3 separate regions of the Homo sapiens genome follow, and regions 1 and 3 are each linked to region 2. Evidence: promoter capture Hi-C in human tissues and cell types (Jung and others, 2019). All regions are on one chromosome and are shown on one strand. The core of a region is centred on a gene start or on the middle of the fragment in contact, and the rest is flanking DNA. Distances in the headings are between cores, read along the strand shown. Region 1 has its middle 140 kb from the start of TMX3. Region 2 holds the start of DSEL (dermatan sulfate epimerase like). Region 3 has its middle 180 kb from the start of TMX3.

Evidence for each region. Contacts are between HindIII fragments. The study calls those that stand out against the background at their distance.
Region 1: a fragment that was not itself captured here is called in contact with the fragment with the promoter of DSEL in region 2 in 1 of the 25 tissues and cell types used here (dorsolateral prefrontal cortex).
Region 3: a contact is called between a fragment that was not itself captured here and the fragment with the promoter of DSEL in region 2, in 1 of the 25 tissues and cell types used here (lymphoblastoid cells).

Annotation. Positions count from the first base shown.
Region 1 is chr18:68,570,311-68,574,467 of GRCh38, reverse strand. No RefSeq gene overlaps it. Among named protein-coding and RNA genes, the nearest start is that of TMX3, 140 kb to the left of the region's middle. The HindIII fragment of the contact is 5,132 bases long and covers 1-4,157 here.
Region 2 is chr18:67,514,869-67,518,586 of GRCh38, reverse strand. DSEL (dermatan sulfate epimerase like) reads left to right here and starts at 1,867. Exons shown (of 2, transcript NM_032160.3): 1 at 1,867-2,226; 2 at 3,095-3,718. It overlaps DSEL-AS1 (DSEL antisense RNA 1), which reads right to left and starts at 2,041. Exons shown (of 5, transcript NR_033921.1): 1 at 1,838-2,041. The HindIII fragment of the contact is 11,831 bases long and covers 1-3,718 here.
Region 3 is chr18:68,534,713-68,538,373 of GRCh38, reverse strand. No RefSeq gene overlaps it. Among named protein-coding and RNA genes, the nearest start is that of TMX3, 180 kb to the left of the region's middle. The HindIII fragment of the contact is 3,596 bases long and covers 25-3,620 here.

The sequences.
Region 1 (4,157 bases), core at 678-3,177, 1.1 Mb before region 2:
TCTCAGAAGTGAGGAGGACAGATTACTGAGTGTTGGCTCAGACAGGTTACTGATTTGTCACCTCGCCCTCTGTTTTCTTTGTCTCTTAAGGTTTGTCTTAAGTTTTATAATTCTATAACTCAAAGAAATCCAGTTTTAGTGATTGTACAGAGTATACATGCCACAGAAAACTCACCTGATAGTCAATCTACATATGCAGGCATTTTTATTATTTTTTTCTTAATTTGTATTTATTTACAATTTTAGGTTCAGGAGGTACATCTGCAAGTTTGTTACATGAATATATTGTGTATTGGTGAGGTTTAGGCTTCTTGTGTACTCGTCACCCAAATGGTGAACATTGTACCTAATAGGTAATTTTTTGTAACCCTCACCACTTTCCTAGCCTCCCCCCTTTTCACTTCCCCAATATCTATTATTTCCAACTTTATGTTTATATGTATTCATTCTTTAGCTCCCACTTATTTTTTATGACTTTTTTCTAATTTTTAAATTATTTTTTAAATTTTATTTTATTTTAAGTTCTGGGATACGTGTGCGGGACGTGCCCATGTGTTACATAGGTAAACATGTGCCATGGTGGTTTGCTGCACCTTATCAACCCATGACCTAGGTATTAGCTATTTATCCTGATTCTCTCACTTCTCCTGCCACCTGACAGGCCCCAGTATGCATTGTTCCCCTTCCAGTGTCCATGAGTTCTCAGTGTTCAGCTTCCACTTACAAGTGAGAGCATGTGGTGTTTGGTTATCTGTTCCTGTGTTAGTTTGCTGAGGATAATGGCTTCTAGCTCCATCCATGTCTCTGCAAAGGACATGATCTCATTCCTTTTTATGGCTCCATAGTATTCTATTGTGTATATGTACCACATTTTCTTTTTCCAGTCTATCATGGATGGGCAGTGGGGTTGAGTCCATGTCTTTGCTATTGTGAATAGTGCTGCAAAGAACATATGTGTGCTTGTATCTTTATAATAGAATGATTTATACTCCTTTGGGTATACACCCAGTAATGGGATTGCTGGGTCAAATGTTATTTCTGGTTCTAGGTCTTTTAGGAATCACCACACTATCTTCCACAATGGTTGAACTAATTTACATTCCCACCAACAGTATAAAAGCATTTCTATTTCTCCACAGCCTTGCCAGCATGTGTTATTTCTTTACTTTTTAATAATTGCCATTCTGTCTGGCGTGCGATAGTATCTCACTGTGGTTTTGATTTACATTTCTCTAATCATCAATGATATTGAGCTTTTTATAATATATTTGTTGACCACATAAATGTCTTCATTTGAGAAGTGTCTGCTCATAGCGTTTGCCCTCTTTTTAATGGGGTTGTTTGTTTTTTCTCTTGTAAATTTGTTTAAGTTCCTTGTAGATTCTGGATATTAGACCTTTGTCAGACAGATAGGTTGCAAAACTTTTCTCCCATTCTGTAGAATGTCTATTCACTCTGATGATAGTTTCTTTTGTTGTGCAGAAGCTCTTCAGTTTATCAGACCCTATTAGTCAATTTTTGCTTTTGTTGCAATTACTTTTGGTGTTTTTGTCATGAAATCTTTGCCAATGCTAATATACTGAATGGTATTTCCTAGATTTTCTTCTTGGGTTTTTATAATTTTGGGTTTCACATGTAAGTCTTCAATCCATCTTGAGTTAATGTTTGTATAAGGTGTAAGGAAAGGGCCCATTTTCACTTTTCTGCATATGGCTAGCCAGTTTTCCCAGCACCATTTATTAAATAGGGAATCCTTTCCCTATGGCTCGTTTTTGTCAGATTTGTCAAATATCAGATGATTGTAGATATGCATTTCTTTTTCTGATATCTCTATTGTGTTCCATTGGTCTATATATCTATTTTGCAACAAGTGCCATGCTGTTTTGGCTATTGTAGCCTTGTAGTATAGTTTGAAGTCAGGTAGCATGATGCCTTCAGCTTCATTTTTTTTGTATAGGATTGTCTTGGCTATACGGGCTCTTTTTTTTTCCATATGAATTTTAAAGCAGTTTTTTCTAATTCTGCAAAGAATGTCAATGGTAGTTTAATGGGAATAGCACTGAATCTATAAATTACTTTGGGTAGAATGCCCATTTTTATGATATTGATTATTCCTATCCATGAGCATGAAATGTTTTTCCATTTGTTTGTGTTCTCTCTGATTTCCTTGAGCAGTGGTTTGTAGTTCTCCTTGAGCAGGTCCTTCACTTCCATTGTTAGTTGTATTCCTAGGCATTTTATTCCCTTTGTAGCAATTGTGAATAGGAGTTCATTCATATTTTGGTTCTTTGATCGTCTATTGTTAGTGTATTGGAATGCTTGCAATTTTTGCACTTTGATTTTGTATTCTGAGACTTTGCTGAAGTTGCTTATAAGCTTAAGAAGCTTTTGGGCTGAGATGATAGGGTTTTCTAGATACAGGATCTTGTCATCTGCAAAGGAGACATTTGACATTTGTTCAATTTCCATGTGGGTTGAAGATTTTTGTATCTATGTTCATTAGGGATATTGGCCTATAGTTTGTTGTTGTTGTTGTGTCTTTGCTGATTTTGGAATCAAGGTGTTAATGGCTTCATAGAATGAGTTAGGGAGGAATCTCTCCTCCTCAATATTTTGGAATAGTTTTAGCAATATTGGTATTAGCTCTTCTTTGTACATCTGGTAAATCTGGCTGTTAATCCATCTGGTACTTTCCTTTTCTGTTTTTGGGAGATTTTTAATTACTAATTTGATTTCAATACTCATTATTGGTCTGTTCACGGTTTCTATTCCTTCCTGGCTCTATTTCTTCCTAGATGAAATGGATAGGTTTCTAGAAATGTACAACCTCCCCAGATTTATTCATTTCCTCTAGGTTTTCTCGTCTGTGCACAGATGTTCCTATTAATCTCTGATGATCTTTTTGTATTTTTGTGGTAATAGTTGTAAAATCACTTTTATAATTTCTGATTGTGCTTATCTAAATCTTCTTGCTTTTTTCCCTTTAATTTAGCTAGTGGTCTATCAACTTTATTTATCTTTTCAAACAGTTTTTCACTTCATTGATCATTGTATTATTTTGGGGGTCTCAATCTCATTTAGTTCTGCTCTGATTTTTTTTAACGTCTTTTCTTCTGCAAAGTTTGGGTTTGGTTTATTTTTGTTCTTCTAGTTCCTTGAGGTGGAATATTAAGTTGTTGATCTAATATTTTTATATCTTTTTGATGTAGGGATTTAATGTTATAAAATTTCCTCTTAGCGCTACTTTTGCTACATATCCCAGAGGTTTTGGTATATCATGTCTCTATTTTCATTCATTTTAAATTTTTTTAAAATTTCTATCCTAATTTCATTGATTATCCAAAGATCATTCAAGAATAAGTCATTTAGTTTCCAAGTATATGTTTACTTTTGATAATTCCTCTGCATTAATAATGTCTTTTTTCTTTTTCTTTCCTTTTTTTTTCTTTCTTTTTTTTTTTTTTTTGAGACAGGGTCTTTCTCTGTTGCCCAGGCTGGAGTGCAGTGTCATGATCTTGGCTCACTGCAAACTCTCCCTCCTGGGCTCAAGGGAACCTCTCACCTCAGACTCCTGAGTAGCTAGGACTGCAGGCACTTGCCATCATACCTGGCTAATTTTTTTTTTTTTTTTTTTCTATAAATGAGGTTTTGCTGTGTTGCCCAGGCTTGTCTCAAACTCCTGTGCTCAAGCGATCTGCCTGCCTTGGCCTCCCAACGTGCTGGTATTACAGGCGTAAACCACCATGTCCTGCCTGTGTTAATTTCTAATTTTATTCCACTGTGGTCCAAGAAGATATTTGATATGATCTGGATTTTTTTTTGAAATTGTCGAGACTTGCTTTATGGCGAAGCATATGGTCTATTTTGGAGAATGTCCCATGAGCAGATGAGAAAAAATGTATATTTTGTGATTTTGGGCTAGAATAATTTCTTGTAAACGTCTATTAGGTTCATTTGGTCTGGAGTCCAGCTGAATTCCAGTTGATTCTTTGCTGATTTTCTGTCTTAATGATCTGCTAGCAATGTCAGCAGGGTATTGAAGTCTACTATTATTGTATTCTGTCTCTTTTCATAAGTCTAGCAGAATTGTTTTATGAATCTAGGTGCTCCAGTGTTTGGTGCATATATATTTAGGATAGTTATGTCTTCTTGTTTAA
Region 2 (3,718 bases), core at 618-3,117:
CTACTCTCTCATAAATGTGGTTGGAGGCCATGGGTCCTCTTCCTCTATCAGGGGCCATGTAGAGGCACAATCCAGATTTTACAGGAAGTTGTGTCAGAAGAGGATCCTTGTTTGGGAATAAACCTCAGTGGAGGAGACGAGGCTCTGTATCAGCCCAATTGTTCGAGGTTCAACTCATTTCAAAAGCAGATATAGTACTTACAAAGGGGACTTGAGTGCTACTCATGACTTGAAGGAGTTTTGAATAGGGTACAGGAGTCAACCAGTTGAAATAGAAAGCAGAAAATAAACAACCTAAACGGCCGAATATAGGTACAAATGATATAGTTCTGGAGTAATACATTCTGGCTAGGGAAACTTAGGAGTTATTTACAGAAGAATGTAAGCATCTGAGTTGAGACCTGGATGATCAGATAATTTCAACAGTCAGAAGAATTTTAACTAGTAAGTGGGGTGGTTGGGTAAAGGACACTGTGAGGGAAAGAATGGAATAAGCATAGTTACTGAAGCACCCAAGCAAAAGCAAGTGTGGCTATTTGGACTGGGCTAGGGGTTACTACGGGGCCAAAACAGAAGAGTGATGAGGAGTTAGAGGCCACATTTCACCTCAAAGTTAAATGATTTGAAATTTATTCTGCTAGCAGTCGTCTACTGTTTGATTTTCAGCAGCAAATGATCTAAGCAAGACATTTATTTTTAAAATGTTAAAATATATCTTATTAAATATTACCAAAATAGTATGGGAAATGAAGAGACTGAATGTGTTACTAATCCCCAACTGAGAATGGAATTGTTCATTTGTGAAGCTTGATATTTCCCTGTATTTTTATTACTACTAAGCTATTATTTTTTACATTTGAGGTCAGAGCTTGGGTTGGTTTATGCCAAAGTGTCATCTCAGCTATCTGTGAGAAGCTCCATGTGTGGAGTGCAACAGGAGTCCCAGCCTGCTCTAGGATTTCCACGACCTGGCACTGCACTCACATGTCGTAGTAGCCGGGGCACACTGCCTTCTCCTGTCTGCATGTAGGTCTTTACCGAATACCAGGTCCCATTTTTAAATAAGAGGCTCCTTCTACTTGTTTGTCCCATGCTTCCCCTATTTATACTGCCTGAGAAATTGTTTTCCATCAGTAAAGCTGATTAGTCTTTTCTGTTTTCCCTTGATCTTTGTTAGCATCTGGGCTACAGAAGTTGTCCTCCTATATTAATCTGGGTATTTCGGTTTTGCTTTTCCAAAGGACAGCAAGCTCAGCCAGGCTGCCTCTCAGTTCCAAGGGAGTGCTCATTCCCTCCTTCCCCAGCCCTTGCTCTTTCCAAAAGGATGATTTCTGTCGTCCCAGGGCTTATCCCCTCCCACTCCAGCTCCTCCCATCATTTGAGTCAATCCCACAGCCCCCACTATGGCTCTATTATATAGTTGTCGTCTTCCCATAACCAAAAGGTTTTAACGCCAGCCTGGCAGCGTCTTTAGACTCTCGCACTCCCAAACTGTCCCCTCCTCCAGCTCGACTCCTCCGGGAGCGCGCGGCCACCGCTGCAAGCCCAGAACACAAACGCCTAGAGCTTCCTCCGCTTAGAAACCCGGGGCGCTTGGCCCCGCCTCACCTGCTTTCGGCCCCGCCCCGCCCGCCGCCGGCCTGCTCACGGCTCCTCCCGTCCTCCCCGAAGCCCCGCCTCTGACCCCGCCCTGTCCTGTCTCCGTCCCGCCCCACGCCCGCCAGCCAGCGTCGCTGTCTCTCGCCTTCCCTGAGGCCCCGCCTTCAGCCCCGCCTTCAACCCCGCCCCGTCCTGCCTCCGCCCCGCCCCCGCTTGCCGGCCCGCGTCGCCGTCTCACCCTCCCCGGGCTGCGCGGCCGGAGCTGGCACAGAGGATCCTCGGCCGCGGCGACATCACCGCCTGGGCACGCGGGCGCTGCTCTGGATACGGCGCCACCGAGAGAACCCGCCGCCCGCGGGTCTCTGTCCTGCGGTCCGTGGTTGCCCCCACAAGCGTCCGGCGTTTCCTGAGGGCGGGCGTGTCCGGGCCGTGCGGGTCGCGGGGACCGAGCGCGGCTGAGGAGACCGAGCTGGGGCAGCGCCTGCCGTAGCGCGGGAGACGACGCGGGGGTCTTGCGGAGCCCCGCGGGAGCCTGGCCCGCCGTGCAGAGCAGTTTTCTGGAACTCTCCACCTCCGTCTCCCTTGGGGCCCAGTGCGGCGCCGAGCCCCCGTCGGGATCTGCCTGAGGTAAGCGGACTTGGTGGCTCAGGGGTCTCTCGCCATCCTGCCTCACTCAGCCCCAGAGCGGGGAGCGGAGAATGGGGGCGGCAGGGTCGGAGGACGCCAGTGAAAAAATGCAACAGGCGGGGCGGATCAGGAAACTCCTAGCCTGAATGTTTCCTACAGAGGGGAGACTTGTCCAAGACTGAAACTTGCTTAGGTTCTTCCAGCCGCGGACGGGCACGGAGAGGCGTCTTTCGACACCGGGGTCCGAGCTCCCTCTGGCGGCTCCACCTGAGGACAGGGACTCGGCCACAGGTGAGCGCCGAGCGCGGAGCTCCCGCCCCTCGGCTTGGCGCCTGGTCACGATTCGCGGTTACCCCGCCGAGAAAAGTGACTGGTCCGAGTAGTTCTCATTAGGAAGATACCTTCTGATCCCATGAACTCTAAACCTTCCCCCGGAATTAAAAAAAAAAAAAAAAAAAAAGATCTTTTCAACTTTCAGTTTTTTGTCCCTCGGTCCTTGGGAACAAGAAATAACAAGGATAGCAGGACTCATCTTTGTGTAAACTGCATTTGAATACAAACATTTTTTAAGTGACTGAAGCCACGTTAGTGGCGTTAAACTATAGATATTGTCGGGAGAGTTCTATCTTGTATATTTTGTATTGTTAGTTGCTTGTCTTCTGCTGACGGTCACTGGTTTCCAAATAAGTGCGTGTAAATGGATAAGAAAAAAATCACTTGCCCTAGCTTAGGTTGCAGATAATATGAGATTTTACTGTGATTCTAAAATTTCTATTAAGTGATTGCAGAATGTTTAAGTCATCAGTTTATATTCATTCTCAGCATACCTGAAGCCTCAGAGAATTTTTATTTTGTCCCCCATCCCCAGAAAAGTGTCATGAAAAAAGAGCAGAAGAGAGACCTCACTGTTGCTGAAAGGGGAATTTTCTTTCCCCGTTGGCGGTTACTTCATGATCGGACGAGAAGTATCTAGGTGACTGAAGATATTCCATTTTTATGTTTGTACACATGAAGCTGATAAAAGAAGATGTGAACATGATTTCTCTTTGTCATAATAGGCTGATGAGTAAGTAAGCCTGAAAAATATTTGAAATGAAGGCAAGAATTTTGAATTTTTAAAAACCAACTAAGACTTTGATCACTTGTTGAGGATGTTTCTCTCTCATAAATGAAAGAAAAACGTATTCACAAGACAAGAAGTATAAAAAGTTGAGAGGAATGACAACTGAGTCCACTCACTCGAAGAATGTCAGTACTTCATCATCTTCTTTGGGCAAACATACACAAATGCATCATACATGTGTGGTGAGCTTATCACCAGTGATGGTTTTCTGTGCTAGAAATGACTCTTAATTTGAATTTTGGAGTGCTTTTTCTCTTTTTTTACAATGTGTGTTCCAACTCTTTGTGTTAAATAGATTTAAGTAAAGGAGGTAAATGCTAAATTCATAGTGTTTTTTACCTGTATCACTTCCCTGTGTATTATGGAAAA
Region 3 (3,661 bases), core at 573-3,072, 1.0 Mb before region 2:
CTTTATTCTGTCAACAGAAATCAAGGTAATAAATATCACTGTTTTCTACCCCTTTAGTTTTAATGGCTCATACATAGACTGACAAAAATATGTTTCTGTCAAAAATTGATCCAAAAATATAAACATATTAAAAAAGAACAGAATTACATGTCAGTGTTTGAATTGAAGGATTAGACCTATTTTATTTTATTTTAAAGAATACAGAAAGCCCACATCCTGTTAGTACGATATTCTTTCTTGTTTTATATTTATGGATACTTGGGAATTCCTGGCTGTGTTGTCCCAAGACTCTATTCTACCTAGGATGCAATTGAAATTTTGCTGGGTGTCGTGACAGTGGAGGCTAGTGTCTCAGGCATCACATCTTATGAGAATGTTCGCAAAGATCTTTCTGACTGAGGAACTCTAGGTATGTCTAGTTAGCATCTTACCTCTAAATAATGTACTAGATTTCTTTTCCAATGTCAGCCTCCAGTGTCACCCATATAAAGGCACAAAAGATATAAGGAGTCAGCACCAGAGAATTGAGTTTGGGGAAGCATTGCTTGATTCCAAATCAACCTTGGAGAATAGCCCAGTGGTTGATTGGTTAGGCTGTGCCCTCACCCAGATCTCACCTTGAGTTGTAATGCTCTCCACCTGTCAAGGGTGAGGCCAGGTGGAGATAATTGAATAATGAGGGCAGCTTCCCCCATACTGTTCTCCTGGTAGTAAATAAGTCTCACGAGATCTGATGGTTTTGTAAATGGGAGTTCCCCTGTACAAACCCTCTCTTGCCTGCTGCCATGGAAGAAGTGACTTGCTTCCCCTGTACTTTCTGCCTTGATGGTGAGGCCTCCCCAGCCATGTGGAACTGTGAGTCAATTAAACCTTTTTCCTTTACAAATTACCGAGTCCTGGGTCTTAAATTATCAGGAATATTGCAAGCTGGTTGTTAGATACTTAGTAGTTGAAATCGTCCCTGATGAGACTATTGATATCACAGAAATTAGCAAATTAGGAAACCTACGAATTGGAGCCCCCCCTCATCCAGTGGTGCTTAAACATGTACTATTGCTATTGTACATTGCTGTTACTGGGACTCAGCAGTGTGAGAACAAACGAATACAGAAGCTTATTGAGGAGTCAGCGTTTCTTTGGGTAGGAAAGTGGCCTGTACTACAGCAGTAGCGCCTGAGTGCAGGCCATTCTGATAGTCTGTGCTGAACTCCTACTCCAGGCATGTGCCTGGATGAAACATCTCACAAAGGGAATGAATTGGTCAGTGACATACTAGTACATGTTTAAGCACCATGGTGTGTGAGGAGGGCTCTAATTTATAGATTTGCTGATTTCTGCGATATCAATACTCCCATCATGGCCAATTTCAGCTACTAAGTATCTAAGAACCAGCTTGCAAAATTCCTGATGATTTAATAATCATCTCTTAGCAGCCAACACAAACAAGCTCCAGAACCCCACAAAGTGTTCTCTGTGTAAGTTTAATATAACAGGAAAAAATAAAATAATCTGAAGTTTAGTGATCCTCCAAATTAATGGAAAACCACTTGAAAATAAGAACTAAATTTTATACCCAGAAAACTTGATTACCACAAAGGGATAAAGATAGAAAAATCCCAAAATTATTATATGAATCTTCTTTGATTCAAAGTGGCTTATGTGGTGTGTCTTACTGCTATTACTGGGACTTACAGAGATAGCATGAGTGTTTGTTGTATATTAGAATTTTTAAAAATCTAAAGAAAAACATTTTCTTAAAAGTGCTAAGCTGGCTGGGCTCAGTGGCTCACGCCTGTAATCCCAGCACTTTGGGAGGCTGAGGTGGGTGGATCACGAGGTCAAGAGTTCGAGACCAGCCTGACCAACATGGTGAAACCCCATCTCTACTAATAATACAAAAATTAGCCGGGCGTGGTGGCACACGCCTATAATCCCAGCTACTCAGGAGGCTGAGGCAGGAGAATCGCTTAAACCTGGGAGATGGAGGTTACAATCAGCCGTGATTGTGCCACTGCACTCCAGCCTGGGTGACAGAGTGAGACTCCACCTCAAAAAAAATAAAAAAGAAAATAAAAAATACTAAACCATGGGTGCAGTGAGATGGATGATGAAAATTGGCTAACGGGTACAATGTACGTTATGAGGCTGATGGATACCATCAAAGCTCAGACTTGACCATTATGCAATCCATGCATGTAACAAAATTGCACACGTACCTCATAAATTTGTACCAGAAACCTCTCAAAGACAAAATAGAAGCCAAATGGATTATACAGAGAAATTATCAAAAGTGATAAAATTAATTTTTAGAATGTACTAAAACATACTGTTTATTCTGTCAACAGAAATCAAGGTAATAAATATCACTGTTTTCTACCCCTTTAGTTTTAATGGCTCATACATAGACTGACAAAAATATGTTTCTGTTAAAAATTGATCCAAAAATATAAACATATTTAAAAAGAACAGAATTACATGTCAGTGTTTGAATTAAAGGATTAGACCTATTTTATTTTATTTTAAAGAATACAGAAAGCCCTCATCCTGTTAGTATGATATTCTTTCTTGTTTTATATTTATGGATACTTGGGAATTCCTGGCTGTGTTGTCCCAAGACTCTATTCTACCTAGAATGCAATTGAAATTTTGCTGAGATGAGTGTCGTGACAGTGGAGGTTAGTGTCTCAGGCACTATGAGAATGTTCGCAAAGATCTTTCTGACTGAGGAACTCTAGGTATGTCTAGTTAGCATCTCACCTCTAAATAATGTACTAGATTTCTTTTCCAATGTCAGCCTCCAGTGTCACCCATATAAAGGCACAAAAGATATAAGGAGTCAGCACCAGAGAATTGAGTTTGGGGAAGCATTGCTTGATTCCAAATCAACCTTGGAGAATAGCCCAGTGGTTGATTGGTTAGGCTGTGCCCTCACCCAGATCTCACCTTGAGTTGTAATGATCTCCACCTGTCAAGGGTGAGGCCAGGTGGAGATAATTGAATAATGAGGGCAGCTTCTCCCATACTGTTCTCCTGGTAGTGAATAAGTCTCACGAGATCTGATGGTTTTGTAAATGGGAGTTCCCCTGTACAAACCCTCTCTTGCCTGCTGCCATGTAAGAAGTGACTTGCTTCCCCTGTACTTTCTGCCTTGATGGTGAGGCCTCCCCAGCCATGTGGAACTGTGAGTCAATTAACCTTTTTCCTTTACAAATTACCGAGTCCTGGGTCTTAAATTATCAGGAATTTTGCAAGCTGGTTGTTAGATACTTAGTAGTTGATGGTTAATGTAGGAGGAAGGCAGACTTAACGCTCGGTGTTTTCCTTTTTACTTCAGACTGGGAAGCTTCCTTGTCCCGGCCCAGGCACCCGTGGAGCATCCCCTCCATCAACTGGATTGCCATCTCCTTCTGGGTAAGTTTAATTCCCACAAACTCTGCAAAGAATATGTAATATTATTTGAGATAACTCACTGATCAGCTAAGGAACAAGCTGAAGATGGAAACAATCAGGTAGATTTATCATTTACAATAATTTTGCAATATAATATTATTCTCAAATTACTTCATCTTTTGCCTTTTTAGAAAGCATGTTTGCAAAAAAAAATTGACTTCCTTCTGTATTGTTCTACTGGGTTTCTTGGGTATCAAAGATGAAAGAATAA